5 separate regions of the Homo sapiens genome follow, and regions 2, 3, 4 and 5 are each linked to region 1. Evidence: promoter capture Hi-C in 16 types of primary human blood cells and fetal thymus (Javierre and others, 2016). All regions are on one chromosome and are shown on one strand. The core of a region is centred on a gene start or on the middle of the fragment in contact, and the rest is flanking DNA. Distances in the headings are between cores, read along the strand shown.

Region 1 (3,923 bases), core at 1,283-3,782:
GGGCCCCTGCACATCCCTGCTCTTAGGAATACCATGTTCCAGCCAGGCGCAGGGGCTCACGCCTGTAATCCCAGCACTTTGGGAGGCTGAGGCGGGCAGATCACTTGAGGTCAGGAAATCGAGACCATCCTGGCCAACATGGTGAAACCCTGTCTCTAACAAAAATACAAAAATTAGCCGGGCTTGGTGGCGGGCACCTGTAATCCCAGCTATTCAGGAGGCTGAGGCAGGAGAGTCACTGGAACCTGGGAGGGAGAGGCTGCAGTGAGCTGAGATCGCACCACTGCACTCCAGCCTGGGTGATGGAATGAGACTCTTCCTCAAAAAAAAAGGGGGGGGGAATAATGCGTTCCTCCTCTTCACCCAGAGGAACGTGGAGACACCAGGGGCCTCTGGCTCAACCTAAGCCTCAGGGATTCTTCGGCCCTGTAAACGAGACCCTTTCCTCAGCCACCCCCCAGCCCCGAACCCCTTCTGGGACAACTCTTCCTGCTTAGTCCCCACGTCCACTCAGGGCCCCAGGAGATGGCAGACATGCCTGGGAAGGCCAACACCCTGGCCCTGTAGCCGGAAAGCTTGGAGGGCCACTGGAGGATCACGTCCACGGAGCCTGGCGGGCACCATCCACCACTGCCAGTGGTACCAGAACCTTTCCTGCCTTCCCAATGAGGCCCTCCCCGACCCTCCACTCATGAAATACACCTGAATCACCCCGTGCATTCCGGGTGCTCCCTAAACCCCAGTCCTGTCCCCCTGTACTTCTGCCATCCGGGTCGGCCTCCCCAGGGAATGTGGTGCTCAGGGAGGGGCTGTGGGATCTGTTCACAGTGATCCCACAGCACCTAGCCTGAACTGCACACAGCACACATTTGCTCACAGCGAGGCTGGGGCTCCTACAGGCCCAGCACCCTCTGGACGGCGGCCAAGAGCCAGCTAGAGAGAGGGACGGCCAATCTGCCACCCTGCTGCCCGGGTCTTCTGCAACACCTGGGACTGGCAGCAGCCTCAATCCTGAGAGACCTCACACCCGGCAAATGGAGCTCCAGACCCGCAGGAAAGGCTGAGTCCTCTGAGAATTTATTACTACGGATCACAGCAGCAACGGGCGGGAAGGGCGGCGCCAGACTCATTTGCCCCGCAGGTAGATCTTGGGGGTCTGCCAGCCTTCGGGGGCTTCCTTTAGCCCCGCCTTCAGCCAGATGCGCCTCAGGTCTTTCTCGAACTTGATCTGCAAGACGCAGAGAGAGGGACCGCCAAGTAATTCGTGGCAAAGAAACGTGTTCTCAGCACTTTGCCCTCCCAGGGCCAAGCAGGGGGCCACTCACCTGCTTGCGTCTCAGGCGTCCCTCCTGGACCTTCCTCCGCAGGAACCGCGTCTTCTTCACCAGCTTCCGGTACTTGTGGTGGTTCATCTTCCGCCGGCGGATCTTCAGCACGTTTTTGCACTGAATTTGAGGCGCATCCGCGACGCCTTCATCCCCCTGCTCGGCCCCTTCCCCTATCTGGCTGGGCGGACACTGGTAGGATTGCGGTGGAGCCACAGTCCCTGCGGTCCCGGTATCCAGTCTGGGCAGGAAGCAGCGGGCCGTGAGCCAGCTCTCCAGGGGGCTGACGGACATCTTCCTGGGGACCAGCATCTCCTCCAGCTCCAGCTGGGCCCCCTTGCGAGGGAGAGAGGCCGCCCTACCTGGGCCGGCCGGCGATGTGCTGTAAAGGGGCCCGCAGACCCGGCTGCCCAGCACTCCAGAGACGGGCCAAGGCGGGCGGCCGCCTGCAGAAAACCAGACGCCACGGTCACCGCTCGCGAGACCACACAGGCCCGTCGGGTTGAGGAGCAGCAGGTTCGTCCCAGCGAGGATCCCCCGCACCTCATTCCTGGCCTGAACCCCTGAGGTTCCCTCTGTGAGCATCGGAAGCTTAGAGGGGAAAGAGTGTGTGTGTGGCCACCGGCCCTGCCCCAGCGGAGCTGCTGAGACCCGCACTCCTAACCAGGTGTGCATCCTCCCATCCGCCCCCGCGCGGCTTCCTACCTGCCCAAGGAACGGCCCTCAACAGCTGGGAAGTCAGGCGCCCCAGGAGCATGGTCTGTGGGCGGCGGCCACAGGTCCCAGGGGAGCTGGAACACAAGTGCCCGTTCAGGTCAGGCGGCAGCGCCTTCAGTAGTCGCGGGCGGGCCGGGACTGGGGCGTCTGGTCCCGCCGCGACCCTCGCTTCCCTTCTCCCTCCGCCACCCCAACCCACAAGGAGGACTTTGCTTCCAACACAGCTCGCGCCCCGAGGCTCCCAAGCCCCCGACGCGGGCGGTGTCGCGCTCGGACGCACCGAAAGGTCCCAGAACGGGGAGGCCGGCCCCCTCCCCGGGTTCACCCCCGCGCGAATCGCGTTGCCTGGCGCCCGGACCCTCTCGGCTGGACCCCGGGCCCGCCTGCCGCAGCGCCCGGCGCCCTCAGGCCTCCCGCTGACCCTTCCCAAGCCCGACCTCGACGCGGCTCAAATTGACCGTTCTGCGGCCGCCCTCGGGCACTTCCGGTCCGTCCCCAAGTCGGCCCCGATCGGCAGCGGCCACCCGGCGGTTCCTACGCACAGCGCCCGCTGGCGTCCTCGCGGCCCCCGATTCTGCATTGGCTCAGGCCCCGCCGGGCCCGAAAGGCGACGGTTTCCGGTTAGTGGAATCACGGTCCCAGTCCTCGCGCGGTTCCTCAGCTCCGCCTGGTCCCTTACGGAGGCAAAAAACTACATTTCCCACAATCCCAGGGGGTGCGGGCCCTGGATATACCCGCAGGTCCAGAATCGTTTCCGGACCACCCAGGGGCCGGATTCCCAACGGGCCGACGGAAGTGCGGGCTCAAGACTACGGAAGTGACGTATCTGGCAACGGAAGTGGAGTTACGTGGAAGGCGGAAGCGTCTAGAGCTATTTCCCCCGTTTTTGCTAGAGACCAAGGACCCGGAATAAGCACTGAGCCTGCGGTACCGGGCCTCCCCGACTCCTCATTCCTGGGGTTAAAAAAAAAAAAATAAGACGCAGGCTGGGCGCGGTGGCTCAGGCCTGTAATCCCAGCACTTTGGGAGGCCGAGGCTGGTGGATCACCTGAGGTCAGGAGTTCGAGACCAGCATGGCCAACATGGTGAAACCCCGTCTCTACTAAAACTACAAAAATTAGCCTAGCGTGGTGGCAGGCGCCTGTAATCCCAGCTACTCGGGAGGCTGAGGCAAGAGAATCGCTTGCGCCCAGGAGGCAGAGGTTGCGGTGAGCCGAGATCGCACCACTGCACTCCAGTCTGGGTGACATAGATCCTGTCTCAAAAAAATAAATAAATAAATAAAATAAAAATCAGACTCACACTTTTTGTCTGAGAACTAAAAGCAGCCTCTCTGGTGGATTGGGTTTGGCTGAGCCCCTAATGATGCTCCCCAGAGTAGGCGCTGCCAACGTGTAGCTTCACCTTTCTACTCCAGACAGGCCCCTTTGACCTCCGTGAGGTTGGCTAATATAGAGACCCCAGCATGGACTTGCAGGGGCGCCTGGTGGGAGAGGGGTGTGGAGCAGAGCCTGCTGGGCCTGCTCGGAGACTTGCCTTGCAGGAGGGTCTTCCAGGGACGCTTAGCAGGAAGTGGAAAGGCCAGGTCATCTGCCGGGCCCAGCCTGGCTAAGCAGTGAGTGACAGGTAGGATAGGCCAGTGTGAGGACATAAAGTTCAGGCTCCAGGCCCACCTCTACAACTGAGGTCCCCAGATGACTCTACGTTACCCCTCAGAGGGGCTACTTGGGACTCCAAGCAGGAAGGTTTACGAACGTTATTTGCGGGCCCGCCCTTCACCCCTGCTGCACAGCTTCCCCTAGTGGATTTGGCCGTAAATGAGCAGACTGGTGCCTCCAGAGCAGCCCTCACCTTGGTGCCCCTGTGTTTGTCTTCACCCGG
Region 2 (3,940 bases), core at 1,276-3,775, 170 kb before region 1:
AGATGTGCAGTCCAAGCTGGGCCGAGGTCAGGAGGAGGACGCAGGCGGCCACGGCCAGGAGGACGACGGTCAGCCACCCAAGCGGCTCTGCCGGCGGGGACCCTGGGACGCACACAGCGTTGTGGGTCTTGTTCCCAGGGAACACAGTGAGAAACCCGAACTGGGTGCAGCTGGAATACATGGACGCGGCCTCCTATCAGCCCCCGGACACGGCCTCCGATCAGCCCCCGGCTGCTGCCCTCCGTGCTGTCTGGGGCAAGGGACAGGAGAGGACCCTTCCTCAGAGTGGGCCTGGACCACCCGGCCACCGGCAGGGCCCACCCAGGACTCACTCTGTCCAAGGTTTGCAGTGGCCTTCGTGGCCCCCGGAGAAGGTCCCCGAGGCACAGTCGATACACTGGAAGCCAAAACTGAATTTCCCTGGTGTGGGGTGTGGGGGGAGGGAGGGAGGGAGGCTGGTGGAGTTGCTGGGATGGATGAGGAGGGCGTCAGGCCAGTGCAGGGGTCCATCTGGGGTCTGGGTGCTGAGTAGAATGCCCCCCCCATCATCCATTCAACAGAGTTCTTCATGGCCCAGGACTGGGGCCCATGTCTGCCCGTCCCAGGTGGGGCGTCTGGGGTGGGGCCCAGTGAGGGCACCTGGGGGAGGTGCGCAGAGTGCAGTGGGCCTGCCAGGGAGGGGAAAGGCCTGCCCATTGGGGGCTGAGGGTGGGCAGAAGCCAGGCAGGACCCAGTAGAACAGAGGGTGGAGAACAGTGAGGGTCCCAGAGAGAGTGAGGCTGGGTCCCAGTTGACCCCAGACCCTGCCCCGTCCAACCTGACACAACCTCCCCAGTTGTACCTTCTCCCAGCTCTCATGTGCCCAGCCTGACCTCTCCTGTCAGGTAAACAAGCCGCTAAGAGGACTTGAGCTGCTCCTTCCAGAACAGGGTGCAGCCCCAGGCCCCAGACAGGACTCCGGGGGGCACAGGGCAGGCTCTTTCAGTATGTGGTGAGGACAGACAGGATGGGTGTCCCGGGCCTGAGAGCCAGACAGCTCCTGGAACCCGCCCCCACCTCCCCGCAGGGTTCTCACAGCCCTCGTGCTGGATGGAGAAGCCCAGGCTGAGAAAGCAGGGACAGGACACCCCCAGAGCTTCATGGCCTGTGGTGCCTGAGCATGGCCTGGCCTGCCCGGCCTCACAGGACTCCGGACCCCACACACCACATGTCCTCGCCGGACACCTGTGCCCACGAGCTCTGCCTCGGGCCCTAGTGGAACCCCTGGCCTGTGTGGACTCCCAGAGGCACCTCCAGGACTTACCCTGGGACTGTACCCCCTGGCCTGGGGGACAAGGGTGGTGCCGGCAGGTCGTGCAGCAAGGGTCTCCGCAGTGGAATTCAGGCTGGACACACATGCAGTCCCACTCGGAACAGCACTCCTCGCCTGGGCAGGAGACAGGCCAGCCCCCCAGCAGCTGGGCTGAGGCCCCCTCCTCCCCAGGCCTCCCCTCGGCCCTCCAGGGGAGTGAGGTTGTCCGTTCTCCACCCACAGTTGGCTCCAGGGAGCAGAGGGCTCCTGGCTGGGAGTCTGGACCCTGGGTTTATCCAGCTGTCTCTTTCTCCTGGGGCCATGTGGCCTGGCTACTCCCCCTTTGCGCCCCACAGCTGCCCCTGCCCAGGTGCTAACTCCATATGCAACCAGGAGCTGCCCCTGCAGGACCCAGGGGTGGCCCCCAACAGTGCACAGTCCCCTGGAGGCCCGTCGACACCTCAGAGGCCGCCTGCCTGGTGTCTGGGCGCTGCTGTCCCCACCACCAGCCACACTGGGCCTCCGGACAGAGCCTCCCTTCCCAACCCACAGGCCCTGGAGGAAGAAGCTCTGGGGTGACTTCCCTGCCAGCTTCCTCTCCAGACCAGCCGTGTCAGCTGAACCCTCATCCCCAGGTGCAGGTCAGAGGCAGGCAGCAGGCCAGACGGTGGTGCAGGGGGGCCCTCAACTGGGCAGGAGGGGGCTGGGCGATGGCCAAGGGCTCACGACCCGCCCAGCAGGACCTGGAACAGCCGTCCTCCACCTCCAGACCCCAGACCCCTCTTGAGGGCGCTCCCACCTGGCTCACCCCTGCTCCCGGCCGGGGCCACTGGCTGGAGCTGGCACACCTCCGCCTCCCTCTGGGATCCTGCCTCCCTCCGGAAGGCTCCCGCTGCTGGCGGCTCTGTGCCCACCCTCCTTAGACCTCAGCAACGCCGGTCTGAGCACGGGAAGGGGGGCGCCCACCCATCCCGGCTTCCGCGGGACGCCTTGGCCGGTCCGCGTTAAGTAAACGCGGTTTACTTACCCGGGTAATCGCGGCAGCAGCGCGTCGTGTGAACCCGGCAGCAGCGCGCGTCCGTTCCCGTCCCAAGCAGGAGGCGCCCAGGGCCGCACCCGGGACCCCCGGTGGGGCGCTGACCCAGGCTGAGCGCGCACAGCAGCGCCAGGCCGCACAGGGCCCGAAACGCGCCCATCGCCCCGTGCTGTGCCATGCTCGGGTTTCAAGAGCCCACAGCCAGTTGGACACGCCCCGTCCCCGTCCTCACCCGCCCTGCCCGGAGGTGGCTGGGACCGTTCATGACCTGAGAATCCCGACCCAGGTGAAGTGCGTGTGAGGAGGGGGTGTAGACACTGCGGACACAGCCCGGTCCCCCGCAGGTCGCCGGCAGGGGCGGGGAAACCAGGCTGGCGGGGATCAGAAAGGTTTTCTATGCAAAGTCTGCGGCCACATTGGTGTCCCCAGTGCAGGGGGCGGCGTTTATAGCACCTTGTCCCATGGGGGCCCCTTGGAGGGCGGGGGTCAGCCAATCACTCCTCCATCCCACTGCCTCCGGGTGGTATCTGCGAGTCCCCGAGAGGTCTCCACAAATTCTGGCCACCCCCAGAGAGCCTCAACCATGGAGCCCCGTGCTGGGGAACCCCACAGAATGGGGACAGGGACCCCTCGGCTCAGCACACCCCACCTGGCTGGCTTCAGGTGTGAAACTCACCATGGGCTGCAGGCCTGTGGGCTCCCCTCCCCCTTGCTTGCAGCTCTCCAGGACCCCCCTCAGGCCAACCTGGGAAGTTCCCCGGGGCTTGGGAGGGGCACCAGGAGGAGCTGGTGGGGAGACGAGAGGGTGCTGGCGCCTCCTCGGGACAGTGTCAGCCGCCCCCGCGGGCACCCAGGGCCCGGTCTCTCAGAGCCACCTTCATCCGTCACACCAGACAGATCCAGGTCCCGGAGGGAGTTGAGGAGGAGCCCCTCGCAGAGCTCTTGGGAGACTGTCCTATGTCTTTCTGAGCCTCAGTTTCCCCTGTGGGCACCGAGGGGTTCTGGGACCCTGCCTCCACCAGGAAGCCTCCCTGGATTGCCCAGCCCTGCTTCTGCGCCGTCCAGCACAGGTGGAGACCCCCATGAATGCTGGGGGTGGGGGCTCTCGGGAACGTGAGCGTGGATGTGGTTCAACACCCTTTTGAGACCTGCAGCCACCGCCTCACCCCGTAAGGCGGTTCCTCCTTTTCCAAGGTAAATGACAGGAATTAGCTGTTTGTGACACCCCGGAGTTCTCAAATCCAAGATGTAGGAGCCTGCCTTGGAGAGGCAGCCCTCAGACACTGCAGAGAAGGAAGGGGTCTCTGCAGCTCCAGGCCGCCCCGACGCTCGGAAGGAAAGGGGTGGGGCCAGCTGGGCCTGGGGGCCTTTGAGAGGCCTGGAGATCTTCAGCCCCGAGGCTGGGAGGGGGTCTGGGCCCCTGGATAGAAAGAGGCGCCATCAGTGGCTCACGCCCGTAATCCCAGCATTTTGGGAGGCCGAGGTGGGCCTCGGATCACCTGAGGTCAGGGGTTCGAGACCAGCCTGACCCACATGGAGAAAGCCCGTCTCTACTAAAAATACAAAAAAAATTAGCCAGGCGTGGTGGCGCACGCCTGTAATCCCAGCTACTC
Region 3 (4,243 bases), core at 1,744-4,243, 140 kb before region 1:
ATCCTGCAACATGAAACATATCCTCGATTCACAGGATCCAGACATGTGGCATCGCCTTCTCCAGACCACACGTGGCACTGCCTTCTCCAGACCACACGTGGCATTGTTTTCTCCGGGCCACACGTGGCATTTGTTTTCTCTGGACCACACGTGGCATTTGTTTTCTCCGGACCACACGTGGTGTTTTTTTCTTTATTTTTAGAAACAGGGTCTTGCTCTGTCACCCAGGCTGGAGTACAGCGGTGACCACAGCTCACCGTGACCACGAACTCCTGGGCTCAGGTGATGCTCTGGGCTCAGGTGATGCTCTCGCCTCAGCCACCGGAGCAGCTGCGACCACAGGCGTGCACCCCCACGCCCAGTAATTTATTTTTATTTTACTCTTTGTAGAGACGGGTCTCGCTGTATTGCTCAGGCTGGTCTCAAACTCCTGGCTTCAAGCGATCCTCTTGCCTCAGTCTCCCAACGTGCTGGGATTACAGGCGTGAGCCACTGTGCCCGGTCTTTTTTTTACAGACACTGAGTTTTCAGCCCTGTCTCTCCGTCTTTCCATCTCTCTCTCGAGCTGTCAGCACCTCCAGGGGCTAACCTGTCCCCATCGCCCAACACCTGCAGCACAGCTTTCCTGTGGGGCCCGGCTCTGTCCCTCCTGGCATCATGCCACTGACCCATGGGGTTAGGGTCACTCTCCAGACCCTGACTTGAACATTCTTGAGATCTATGACCTTAGCTAAGTCATGTGGCCTCCCCGGCCTCAGCTTCTCACTAAGAAACAGGAGGCTCCCCCTCTCCCCCCGACTGACCAGGCTTTGCGAAGACAGCCAACCCTAAGTGCAGAGGGCGTCAGGGCCTGGTCCCAGCAAACAAACACACAACCCCCACACACAGATGTGCACACACACATCCACACTCACGCATGCACGTATTACACACATGTGCCCTTGCCCACACTCGCGAGCGAACGCCAAGGCCGAGGAGCCCAGAAGTCTGTCCTGCCGTCCGAGGCGTGGCCAGTCCTGGTGGGAAGCAGGGGCTCACAGGGCCTCATGCCTCATGTATCCCAAAGGGAACTCGGGGTCCTTCTCACCCACGAGCCTACTCCTTTCACAGTCTGCCCCTCCGGCAAACACCTGCGGGTCCTTTCGGGTGCCGCTGAGGCCCCGCCATGTCACAGCTGTTCCCTCAACACACATGGACTGAGACTCCTGTTCTGTGGCCGTCTTATTCAGCTTCACTGTTCTGGCACCTGCCACTCTGCCTGCACACAGTAGGCGCTCAACGAATGCTACCCTGGGTAATATTAAACGAAAAAATGCTGCCTCCAGGTATCGAGAAACACCAGTGGGGCCGCCATGAAAGTGGTCCTGAAGTCAGTGCAGTCTGCCACAAACCAAGAGGGGTACAAGCCTGAGTTCCCCCAAGGAAGGAAACCCTGGGTGAGGGGCTCATGTCTGATTTTTTTTTTTTTTCTGAGACAGAGTCTCACTCTGTCGCCCAGGCTGGAGTGCAGTGGTGCAGTCTCGGCTCACTGCAACCTCCACCTCCCAGGTTCAAGTGATTCTCCTGCCTCGGCCTCCCAGTTAGCTGGGATTACAGGCACCCACCTCCACTCTCCACTAATCTGTATTTTTAGTAGAGATGGGGTTTTGCCATGTTGGCCAGGCTGGTCTCTAACTCCTGACCTGAAGTGATCCTCCTGCCTCGGCCTCCCAAAGTGCTGGGACTATAGGCGTGAGCCATGCACCCGGCCTGATTTTCTGAACATGGCTGAGGGCTTTTCCCTTCCCTAGTGGTGGCATAATTCTATTCCTGTCGTCCCAGATCGCCTGACCAGGGGAGAGTCCTGGATAAGAACCAAGACACCTCCTCCTGGTGCTGACTCCACTAACTACAGTCGTAAAACACACGCTGTGTGCAAAGAGACTGTACTTTGTTCCTAGAGAAAATAAAGCTAGTTCTTGATTCTACATATCTTGATGAGTTACACGGTTTACTTGAGGCAGGAGGATCGTGAGACCAGCCTGGGCAACACAGTGAGACTGCGTCTCTTTAAAAAACAAAAACAAAAAGATAAGACCCTGTCTCGAAAAAGGGGGAATAAAAAGTAACCCAAAAGTAACTATAAATATCAGGAGTCCATCAAGTGGCGCTTCCTCTCCTGGCTTCAGAGTATCTATTCATCACGGTGTGCCAGGTTCGCAGCACAGCGGAGCGGGCCGGTCCCACCGGAATGGGGTTTCGACTTCGCCATCCCCTAGCAGCTCAGTTCCCAGCAAGGAATCAACACACCCTTGCAAAACGGACGTGGGAAACAGCTTAGGCAGAGACGCTATTTCTTTGCCATCCCTGGGCTTCAGCTCTGGTGGAACGAGGCTATTTCTGGCAGTTAACAACACACACGGTTAGATTCTAAAAGCTCAACAGGGTTCATAACACCGCCTCTGAGCCAGACATCAAGGGCTCCACACAGCCGACTTCACATCTCCAAATCCTACTAACTGGGGATGAGGGTCCACGCGGTTCAGAAGCGGAAGCGCAGGCGCAGGGAAGCGGGGCAGCTTGTCCAAGGTCGCCTCGCCGATAAACGCGAGTCCAACCAGACCCCTTGGGCCTCCGTTTCCCGGTGGCATTCGTAGGTTTTGGCCAGTAGGAGACCAGACGTGCCGGCGGCCGGGGAGGCCAGCGTCGTCGGCCTGTCCCTGCCCCCGGGAACCCCGGGAGCCCCGGTGGCGGCGGAGTCTCGCCAGGGCTCAAGGCCGAGCGGACGGACGATGCCCCAGCCCAAGGCGGGAGGCGGCGGCGGCCTCCAGACCCGCCCTCGCCGTCCGGCCGGCGTACACTTGGCCCCGCGGCCTGCAGCGGCCGTCCCGGGCCCCTCACTCACCGGTCTGCCTCCCCGCGCTCGGGATCCGAGGACCGGAGCGAAGCGTCAGTGACGCCGCCAACGGGCCCGGATCAGGCCACTGCCATCTTTCTTGCGGGCGGGGGCGGTGCGAACGGGCGCGACCTCACGGAGGGGACGCCGGCGCCACCATCTCTCCTCCGGGCGGAAGCGGTCGCGGGGCCGCTCCGAGGTTGACCAATGACAAGGGTGCCCGAGGCCACGTGACGGCCGCCGATTGGCCGCCGGCCTCCGAGCGCCCCGGGGCTCGGCGTCTGCGGAAGGCCCCGGCGCGCTCCCAGGAGCGCCGTGCGCACGCGCACCGCCCCGAGCCGGCGGCGCCTGCGCACTCGCGAGTCCGGCCTGGGCCGCCGGCCCGGCGCGGGCGCCATGAAGCTGCTGCGGCGGGCGTGGCGGCGGCGGGCGGCGCTAGGCCTGGGCACGCTGGCGCTGTGCGGGGCGGCGCTGCTCTACCTGGCGCGCTGCGCGGCCGAGCCCGGGGACCCCAGGGCGATGTCGGGCCGCAGCCCGCCTCCCCCCGCGCCCGCGCGCGCCGCCGCCTTCCTGGCAGTGCTGGTGGCCAGCGCGCCCCGCGCCGCCGAGCGCCGCAGCGTGATCCGCAGCACGTGGCTTGCGCGGCGCGGGGCCCCGGGCGACGTGTGGGCGCGCTTTGCCGTGGGCACGGCCGGCCTGGGCGCCGAGGAGCGGCGCGCCCTGGAGCGGGAGCAGGCGCGGCACGGGGACCTGCTGCTGCTGCCCGCGCTGCGCGACGCCTACGAAAACCTCACGGCCAAGGTGCTGGCCATGCTGGCCTGGCTGGACGAGCACGTGGCCTTCGAGTTCGTGCTCAAGGCGGACGACGACTCCTTCGCGCGGCTGGACGCGCTGCTGGCCGAGCTGCGCGCCCGCGAGCCCGCGCGCCGCCGCCGCCTCTACTGGGGCTTCTTCTCGGGCCGCGGCCGCGTCAAGCCGGGGGGGCGCTGGCGCGAGGCCGCCTGGCAACTCTGCGACTACTACCTGCCCTACGCGCTGGGCGGCGGCTACGTGCTCTCGGCCGACCTGGTGCACTACCTGCGCCTCAGCCGCGACTACCTGCGCGCCTGGCACAGCGAGGACGTGTCTCTGGGCGCCTGGCTGGCGCCGGTGGACGTCCAGCGGGAGCACGACCCGCGCTTCGACACCGAATACCGGTCCCGCGGCTGCAGCAACCAGTACCTGGTGACGCACAAGCAGAGCCTGGAGGACATGCTGGAGAAGCACGCGACGCTGGCGCGCGAGGGCCGCCTGTGCAAGCGCGAGGTGCAGCTGCGCCTGTCCTACGTGTACGACTGGTCCGCGCCGCCCTCGCAGTGCTGCCAGAGA
Region 4 (4,407 bases), core at 1,772-4,271, 190 kb after region 1:
AAATAACGGGGCAGCCCTGCAGTGTGAAAAGCAATGGGATTTTGTGGGTTCCACCTCCTCACCTAAGCATCCCTGGTCTACGCTATGTCACGACCCTCTGCTGAACCACGTCAGGGTGAACCCCACACCGTGTCTGTGCGCCTCACCACGCCTACTGCCATGGGTGGCACTGGAACTAACCCGTGGACGATCCGACGTGCACCAGGAATAGAAACCAAGCTCTCGCAAAGACAGAGGAGCCAGTGTGTGCACTGCACAGGGTGACACGCCTCCTGTGCCCGAGCCACACGTAACACCTTCCAGGGAGGACCACACGGGGGGTTTTTAAAGGGCAACCCGCTGGGATACAGTTCTTTGTCTTTCCTAAGAAGATCATTGTACATCTGGTCATATGTGGTTTTGAAATCATAAACATTGGGCTTGTCGGGAGCTGGTCCTGGAAGCTTCACGTGAGTCCCTGTTCCAAAGGATCGGACGCTGAATCCCCGTTTGCTGAAAGACAAAAGGAGAGAAAGAATCACAGTCACACTAAGACACAAAATTCCAAAAGCAAGGGACAGCAAATGGGATAGAAACAAAATGAGTAATTTCATTGGCTCATAGTAGAGAATATGTCTTCAAATTTTTAATCTAGGCCGGGCATGGTGGCTCGCGCCTGTAATCCCAGCACTTTGGGAGGCCAAGGCAGGCGGATCATGAAGGCAGGCGGATCATGAAGGCAGGCGGATCATGAAGGCAGGAGATCAAGACCATCCTGGCTAACACGGTGAAAACCCGTCTCTACTAAAAATACAAAAAATTAGCCGGGCGCGGTGGCGGGCACCTGTAGTCCCAGCTACTCGGGAGGCTGAGGCAGGAGAATGGCGTGAACCCGGGAGGCGGAGCTTGCAGTGAGCAGAGATAGCACCACTGCACTCCAGCCTGGGCGACAGGCTGTAGCAAGTTACACAAAAGCAATCAAACCAGAACTGACCATCACAAAGCCACATCTGAACATCATAGCTTGTTTAAGGCTTTACTTTAAACTGAAAGGACTGACTGATGTGGACTTGGGGAAGATTTCATCAGAACATTTTGGCCATCGACCAACGTCCTGGCTTTGGAGGATCCAAGTTCACAGGATTCCTAAGGGACTCACAAAGGTCCAACTGCCCGCTCCACCACAGGAAACTCTGTCTCCCCCAGTTTCCCAACACCCCCACGATGTGGCTCCATGGGAACCGAGACCCAACACCCAAAGGAGTCCCACAGGCTCAGGGTTGCTGCAGGCAGAGAACAGATGCCGCGATGGGTCCGACGGTGCTTGTTCCTTGGACTTCCTAGTCACAGGTGAGGAAACTGACCAAATACTTTTCCTAATCAACTGGAGAAAAGAGCTGAACAGGAAACGTGTGTCATGTGCCACCAATGAGCTCTAGTTCACGCAAGGAGAAAGAGAGGTCGTCTCCAAACACTGATGGAGTGTGGTAAGACCAGAAAATTCTTCTGTCATCGCTGACAAGCACACTTAAGTTTGTCACAACAAGTTACATGTAAAAAAGTTACTTTGGCACCGAGTGCGGTGGCTCACACCTTCAATCCAGGCACTTTGGGAGGCCGAGACAAATGGATCACCTGAGGCTGGGAGTTTCAGACTAGCCTGGCCAGGAGGCGAAACCCCAGCTCCGTTTCTACTAAAAAAAAAAAAAAAATTAGCTGGGCATGGTGGTGCGTGCCTGTAATCCCAGCTACTTGGGAGGCTGAAGCATGAGAATCGCTTGAACCCAGCAGGCACAAGTTGCAGACATTGGAGATCTCACCACTGCACTCCAGCCTGGGCAAAAGAGCGAGACTCTGTCCCAAAAAAACAACAAAAAAAGTTACTTTGGTATAGAACATGTGTTCTTGTAAAGTCACAACTGATACTTATAATTACCTAAAAAATATAGACTTCTCAACCTAGCTTTATTTATAAATCACAAAAGGTTTGCATCTGAAGGAATCTGCCTGGCTCAGGGCGCAGGGCGCACATACACTTCCATTAACACTAAACTCCTCTTACAGGCCTGTCATTCTTGTTCAGAAAAGTGCTGCTGCTTCGCTCTTGAGCAAGAATGACACACAGACACGTGAGGAGTTCCATATTATTTTAAAAAAAGAAAAGTAAGGCCGGGTGCGGTGGCTCACGCCTGTAGTTCCAGCAATTTGGGAGGCCGAGGTGGGCAGATCATGAGGTCAGGAGATCAAGACCAGCCTGGCTAACATGGTGAAACCCCATCTCTACTAAAAATACAAAAAATTAGGCGGGCGAGGCGGCGGGCGCTTTTATAGTCCCAGCTACTCGGGAGGCTGAGGCAGGAGAATGACTTGAATCCGGGAGGCAGAGGTTGCAGTGAGCTGAGATCGCGCCACTGCACTCCAGCCTGGGCGACAAGAGCGAGACCCTGTCTCAAAAAAAAAAAAAAATTACTGAATGTTGAATGAGTAACAGTGTCACAAGAGAGGAAAAACTCAGGCAGAGGGGGCTGCTGGAGTGTAACCAGTCTCTATGCGGATAATGGGGCAACACCCAGCAAGTGAAAACTACCTGTGCCTTTCTCACAGACACTGGCTTCTAGAAACCCGCCCTACGGACATACACGTGCCTCTGCAACATGGCTGCCTGCAGGATGCCCACTGCCGGCCTTCCACAGCCACAAAAGAACAGACAAGTAGAATAATCCATCCATGGGGCAGGACAGGCCATGCGGCTCCACGCGCACCTCCGAAGATGAGTAGAGGAAGCAAAAGAGCCCAAGGGCACCCTGCTGCGCCACCACACACGTCACCCACACACACAGAGAAGATGTGCTCATCTAGTGTACGTGAAACACCTGAGTCCCCTGAGGCTGATGACAGCTGCGTCAGTCCTTACATCCCTAGATATTCCGAGCTACACAACCCGGCTCTCCAAACATCTACCACACACGGCCAGAAATGTGGCACAATAGCAGCGATTCATGACTACAAACCCGTGTTCACGGCACCCGGACTGTGAAATAAACGTGAAAATGCTAAAATTAAAATTCCTGACATTCAGTCATAACCACAGATCCTGACGGAAACATGAGGTTAAAGCAATAAAGTCAACTGTTGGTTGTGACTGAGAGGGTGACGGAGGCCCAGACACAAGGCATACCACAGGGAGCACACGTGAGAAACAACAAGCCTAAAATGACTTCCTTACCAATTCAGACAACATACAATAAAATATGTTCCGTCAAAGCACAAACAAGGGCCGGACGCGGTGGCTCACTTGAGGTCAGGAGTTCGACAACAGCCTGGCCAACATGGTGAAACCCTATCTCTACTAAAAATACAAAAATTAGTCATGGTGGCACACGCCTGTAATCCCAGCTATTCGGGAGGCTGAGGCAGGAGAATTGCGTGAACCCCGGAAGCGGAGGTTGCAGTGAGCCGAGATCGCGCCATTGCACTCCAGCCTGGGAAACAGAGCGATACTCTGTTTCAAAAAAAAAAAAAAAAATCGCACAAAGAAGCCCAGGATCAGCGTGATCACAGCAGCCAAAGGAGACAGCCTGCCTCCCAACACCAACAAGAACTCACCACCTGCTGGACGTTCCTTTAAGTTAGCCTATTTAAAAACAAAATGCAGTTTGTTTTTCCCCCAACAAAAGGTTCACGAATGGCAAAAAGGCTATTTAGCAACAGAAGCAGTATTTCTCCCAAACTGATGCAACCGACAGGGCAGCCAGCTTGCGACTCAACAGCGTTTCTTACATAAAAGCAAGGACAGCTTGGAAAACACTCCTGACACCAACAGGCTTCGCCTGAAGGGCCAACGCCTTTGTAAACTAATCTTCCAGACAAGTATTTGTCTGGTATGCCAAACAACTGTCTTTACAAGTACCAAAAATCTATCAGAGGGCTTGTAATCCCAGCACTTTGGGAGACCAAGCAGGTGGATCACTTCAGCTCAGGAGTTTGAGACCAGCCTGGCCAACATGACAAAACCCCGTCTCTACTTTAAAAAAAAAATAAAAAAATAAAAAAAGCCAGGCGTGGTGGTGCGCGCCTGTAATCCCAGTTACTCCGGAGGCTGAGGCTGGAGAATCGCTTGAACCCGGGAGGTGGAGGTCGCAGTGGGCCCCGTGATGGTGCCACTGCACTCCCGCCTGGGTGACAAAGTGAGACTCTGTCTCAAAAAAACTCCAAAAAACTATCATAAAGAAGCCATCAGGCGGGGCATGGTGGCTCACGCCTGTAATCCCAACACTTTGGGAGGCGGAGGAGGACGGATCACTTGAGGTCGGGAGTTTGAGACTAGCCTGACCAACATGGAGAAACCCCGTCTCTACTAAAAATACAAAACTAGCCAGGCGTGGTGGCTCATGCCTGTAATCCCAGCTACTTGGGAGGCCAGGAGTT
Region 5 (4,487 bases), core at 50-2,549, 240 kb after region 1:
ATGCGAGTGGAGGGGAGTGGTGAGTAATCCCGCGTCTCCTCTCTGAGTTCGGAACCCATGGAGGAAGAAAGCAGAGGTGCCAGACAGGCCTCTGATAGGCACCTGCAGGATTGGGGCAGAGCGGCCGCAGCGCAGGAGCGCCGGCAAGCCTGGCCCTTCCCGGGAGGCCCCCTTTGTCCGGTTCCACCCTGGCCTGTTGCCTCACATGCAACAAGTGTCTGAATGTGGCGCTCTCCTGGCCGAGGGCAGCCCTGGGCGGTGAGTGGGATGACACCCCAGCCTGCAGGGTGCCTGTAGGTCTCCACCCAGATGGGCAGGATTGGAGGTGGCCGCAGCGCTCGTGGGCTTTCCCTCAGCAGGTGTCTCCATGCTGGCCTCCCCGCCTCAGGGCTTCATCCCACTCCGTGGGCCTGATCTCCCTGGGGCACCTGGGATGTCCATCTGCGTTAGCTGGAGCTACTCCATGGCCTGTGGCGTGCCACACACAGCGGCATTTCGGTGTCATTAGGCACAGCTGGAGGTGCAAGGAGGAGGGCAGCCTCATGTCCAGTTCCATGTAACTTGCTTCTTCTGAATAAAGGCAATTTGCTAACTTTCTCGCTAAATAGGATTTGGTTTCTATGGCTTTTAAAGCTTCTCCGATAAAATACTTGCAATAAGGGAACTCTCTCCTCCTACACTCTCCTGACTGATGGTTCGGAAGTCCTCCTGCCCTCTGAGAGCTTGCAGTTTCTTGTGAAAAAGAGAAACTAAGCAGCAATAGAACAGACCCGGTGTCTGCTTGCGTGGTTAAGACGGTAAATGCTAAATGTGTGACACTGCCTTTAGAAACCATTTTCTCCAGCCTGGCTTGCTGGCTGCCCGTCTGGTTTGCTGTGTTGTGTCTCCAGTGGCTTTAGCTTCCAACAGGAAAGCCTGGTAGCCGAGCGAATCTGTGACCCAGGAAGTAGCAATTAAATGCCTGGGACGCTGCCTCGAGGCTGGTGTGTGCTCTGAGGTAAGTTCCGATTTGCCAAAGCACATCTGTCGATCTGTCGCCCGAGTCTTCACACCCTGACTGCCTCCATCATTTTAAACATCGGGAGCAGTTGCCTGCAGCGGGGTTCAGATGCCAGCCAGGGGCACAGCCTGTGAACTGTGGGTAGATGGCAAAGTCTAGCATTTCTGGCAAAGGAAAAAACATTTGGTAACTCTCTGAGTAAATTTCTGACTGAGATGAAGATACCCATTGTGGGGCAGCATCCTGAAGCGGAAGCCTGGGCTGTATGTTTCCAAGAGGAGGAGCAGGAGTGGCCACAGCCATGTACGCCACGATGTACACCAGGGGCTGCGTGGCCACAGCTCTGGTCTGCTGGTCTGCTCCCTGGAGCCCCTCCACCAGTGCTGGGCTGTGGCTGTGGCTGTCTCTGGTTTGTCTTTCTGGGAAACCTTGGCCAGGTTGGTGTGAGGGCAGGGCTAGCCTTGGACATCTGCACTTCCCATAGCAGCCTCTGGCCCAGAGCTCACCCGCTGTGGGCAGGTGATCAGGGTGATCAGGTCCCACGGGTCCCCTCCTCTGCACCTGGAGCCTTGTGGGTGTAGAACAGAAAAATAGGAGGGGGCAACCCAGAGGCCTCCTGCTCTCCAGGAAGGAATGGATGCTGGACAGGTCCAGGGTGGAGGCAGAGGGAGTGAGGGGCCCTTGGGGGAACATCTGTCCTAGAGGGCTTGATTTCCAGGCTGCCCACCCCACTCCTACCCCTAATCTGGTGTTCCTCACCTGCCTCCAGGAAGTCCTCACCTGAGGTCTGCAGCGGGTGTGCCAAGCGCCAGCCCCACATCACCTGCTCCCAGGCCTGCCCAGGGGATGGGTCCTGTGGCCAGTACCCTCGGGGTCAGCTTGACCCAGACCCAGCCCAGAACCTGTCCCATGGCCCCAGGAGGACAGGATGGTCAGGGAAGCCCAAGGGATGAGCCCTTTTGTCCACAAGCTTCCCTCTGACATGGGCAGGCTGCTTGTGCGACCCCACAGCCCCCACCTCTCATGAACAATGGGAATGGGGCAGGCCCCTCGATGCTGGGCTGGATCCTCCCGCCCCTAAGCAGGTGCACTCTGTCCCCTTTGAGAAGAGACCAAGGGATACAAGTGCTGGGTCCTGGCGGGGTGCCCCTCCTCCCTGCCTGTGGGGGTCTCATTACTGCCTCCTGCCCCCACCACAAACACCCCCTAGAGAGGCCTTCGGAGGCAGGTACTGAGCCCTGGGGCCAGGGTGCCAGGAGCCCAGTGGCAGGTCTTGGGTGACTGCTGGCCCTGGGGCAATGGTGAGAAAGCCAGGCAGGCAGCTGCAGGAAGGAGCTGAGGAGAAAGGCGGCAGAGCCTCAAAAGCTGCTGGCGGCCGGGCACAGTGGCTCACACCTGGAATCCCAGCACTTTGGGAGGCCGAGGCGGGCGGATCACGAGGTCAGGAGATCGAGACCATCCTGGCTAACACGGTGAAACCCCCGTCTCTACTAAAAAATAGAAAAAATGAGCCAGGTGTGGTGGCAGACGCCTGTAGTCCCAGCTACTCGGGAGGCTGAGGTAGGAGAATGGCGTGAACTTGGGAGGCGGAGCTTGCAGTGAGCTGAGATTGCGCCACTGCGCTCCAGCCTGGGCGACAGAGCGAGATTACGTCTCAAAAAAACCAAAACTGCTGGCCCCTCCAGAGGGTCCAGGATACTGAGCTCCTGAGCCTGGGATCCACGCGCATGTGGTCTGTCTGCACACTGGCACCGCAGAAGGGTTGGCAGGCGGGCAGGCATGGCTGGAGACCCCGCTCAGATGAGGCGGCCACTCCAGGGCAGTGCCATGCTGGACAGAAGGGACTGCCTTGGAAGTGGGACAGACCCCAGACCCTTGGGGTGGGGGCCCTGCAGGGGAGGCCTTGAGGAGGCGCCGGGTCTACAGGCCCCTGTGTGCTCACATCCCAGCCCCCGGGGAGAGGTGGGAGTGGGTGGGCGCACCCAGCTCCCCTGTCCAGGCTCGTCCCCCTTGTTGGGGCAGCCCTCAGCAAGTGGGGGGCTGGTTCCAGGCACAAGAAGTGAGGCCAGGGAGGAAGCCCTGCCTGTGTTCAGCCCAGTTGTGCCCCAACTCAGGTGGGCTTCCATGAGGGACAGCCTCTGGGAGGGTGGGGGTTTGTGGGCCAGGGCTGGAGAGCTGCCTGGCTGTGCTAAAAATACCGGGCATGCTGCAGACAGGTGCCAGTCTGGGGCACAGGCTACCCTGTCTCAGGCTGATGGCCTTGGCACTCCACCCCACTGCCCCTGTGACGCGGGGGCCGCCAAGGCTTGGTCTTGATTCCCAGAGGCCCTGCTGGTGACCTCCCCGACATCTCTGCCCTCTGCCCATCCCCCCAAGGGCAAGATTTGCCAAAGCACAGGACACATTGGCTCACACATGGGGCACCCTGCCCCTGTCTTTTTGGAAAGGTCCAATGGCATATGGCCAGCGGGTCGGGCAGGTGTGGCCGCTGGCCTGGGCTAAGCTGGCTGTGGCTGAGAGTCTGGGCGCAGAGACAGAAGGCGCCCCCTGCTGCAGAAGGATCACAGTGTGGGCTCATGGCATTGGCTTTTTTGCGGTCCCAAGTCCTTCATCTCCATTGCCGGGCCCATCTCGGGGGTCGGCAGATGCGTGTCCCCTACTAGCAAAGACCTCCAGTCGGTTCTGCGGCTGCCTGTGATGAGCCCTGCTCTGGCTAAGTGGAGGTGTTTGGCAGGGAGGAGTCCCCGGCTTAGTGTGATTCCAGCTGTGGCCGATTCTGGTGGGATCCTGGCAAGGAGGAGGTTGCGTGTGGATCTGGTGGAGGTGGACGGCCTGGCAGGGGGTGGGGTCTGCAACCCTAAGGAGCAGTGCCCCTCTCACTTGTCCCCCCGCCAGCAGACTGCTGCGTCGGCCTCCCCGGCCTGTGCCATTCTGTGGCGAAGGTCCCTGTGTAGAGGAGGCTGGAGTGGGGGAGCTCAGCCCAGGCCATGCCTCACCCTTCTTGGGTGCTCCATGGGCAAAAGCTGAGGTCAGTTTGTGGATCCTGGGAGCAGGAACCCTGCAGAGCCTGCCCCCCAGCTGGTGGCAGAGCAGGCAGTGGGGAGCTGCTGGGGCAGGAGGGAGTGACCTCCCTCCAAGACAGCCCCCAGTGGGGATGGGAGGGTCTGCAGAGATCTGGAGAGTCAAGTGTCATGACCCAGGTGGGGCCATGGAGCTGGGCTGGCCGGTGGAACTGTGTCCACCTGGACATGCTCTGGGTGAGGCGCAGTCAGCGCTGGGATGGCTAGAAGCGGCCTGTGCTGGGCGGGTCCTCGGGACACAGGGGCTGCCGCTGTCACAGAAGCCTGGCACAGATTCTCTCTGGTTCTTATGTTTCATTCATGCAGCCATTCAGTCAAAGCTGAAGCTGGTGGGGTCCTGGCCAAACAGGACGCAGCAGTGCACCACCTGGGGGCTGCCCTCAGAGGCCCCGCGAGGGGAATAGTGC

The links. The method cuts DNA at HindIII sites, captures the fragments that hold promoters and counts their contacts. A CHiCAGO score of 5 or more calls a contact.
Region 2: a contact is called between the fragment with the promoter of TNFRSF18 here and the fragment with the promoter of AURKAIP1 in region 1, in 3 of 17 cell types (activated CD4 T cells, non-activated CD4 T cells and naive CD8 T cells). The highest score is 5.7, in activated CD4 T cells.
Region 3: the fragment with the promoter of SDF4 here is called in contact with the fragment with the promoter of AURKAIP1 in region 1 in 1 of 17 cell types (total B cells); the score reaches 5.0 in total B cells.
Region 4: a fragment that was not itself captured here is called in contact with the fragment with the promoter of AURKAIP1 in region 1 in 1 of 17 cell types (M1 macrophages); the score reaches 5.3 in M1 macrophages.
Region 5: a contact is called between a fragment that was not itself captured here and the fragment with the promoter of AURKAIP1 in region 1, in 4 of 17 cell types (fetal thymus, erythroblasts, endothelial precursors and 1 more). The highest score is 9.5, in fetal thymus.

The regions. Positions count from the first base shown.
Region 1 is chr1:1,372,675-1,376,597 of GRCh38, forward strand. AURKAIP1 (aurora kinase A interacting protein 1) reads right to left here and starts at 2,533. Exons shown (of 4, transcript NM_017900.3): 1 at 2,480-2,533; 2 at 2,031-2,116; 3 at 1,326-1,771; 4 at 1,062-1,228. The coding sequence starts at 2,082. The coding sequence ends at 1,127. RefSeq lists enhancers at 1-31, 2,319-3,224 and silencers at 2,274-2,323, 2,344-2,523. The HindIII fragment of the contact is 3,347 bases long and covers 1,915-3,923 here.
Region 2 is chr1:1,204,067-1,208,006 of GRCh38, forward strand. It overlaps TNFRSF18 (TNF receptor superfamily member 18), which reads right to left and starts at 2,526. Exons shown (of 5, transcript NM_004195.3): 1 at 2,319-2,526; 2 at 1,304-1,426; 3 at 333-420; 4 at 1-170. The coding sequence starts at 2,505. RefSeq lists a silencer at 1,109-1,309. The HindIII fragment of the contact is 24,444 bases long and covers 1-3,940 here.
Region 3 is chr1:1,229,008-1,233,250 of GRCh38, forward strand. It overlaps SDF4 (stromal cell derived factor 4), which reads right to left and starts at 2,994. Exons shown (of 7, transcript NM_016176.6): 1 at 2,885-2,994. It overlaps B3GALT6 (beta-1,3-galactosyltransferase 6), which reads left to right and starts at 3,230. Exons shown (of 1, transcript NM_080605.4): 1 at 3,230-4,243. The coding sequence starts at 3,272. RefSeq lists a silencer at 2,472-3,331 and enhancers at 2,948-3,629, 3,630-4,243. The HindIII fragment of the contact is 46,076 bases long and covers 1-4,243 here.
Region 4 is chr1:1,564,425-1,568,831 of GRCh38, forward strand. SSU72 (SSU72 homolog, RNA polymerase II CTD phosphatase) reads right to left here. Exons shown (of 5, transcript NM_014188.3): 2 at 349-492. Among named protein-coding and RNA genes, the nearest start is that of SSU72, 8.2 kb to the right of the region's middle. The HindIII fragment of the contact is 5,161 bases long and covers 442-4,407 here.
Region 5 is chr1:1,616,719-1,621,205 of GRCh38, forward strand. All of the region lies in intron 2 of MIB2 (MIB E3 ubiquitin protein ligase 2), which reads left to right. Among named protein-coding and RNA genes, the nearest start is that of MIB2, 3.5 kb to the left of the region's middle. The HindIII fragment of the contact is 1,337 bases long and covers 632-1,968 here.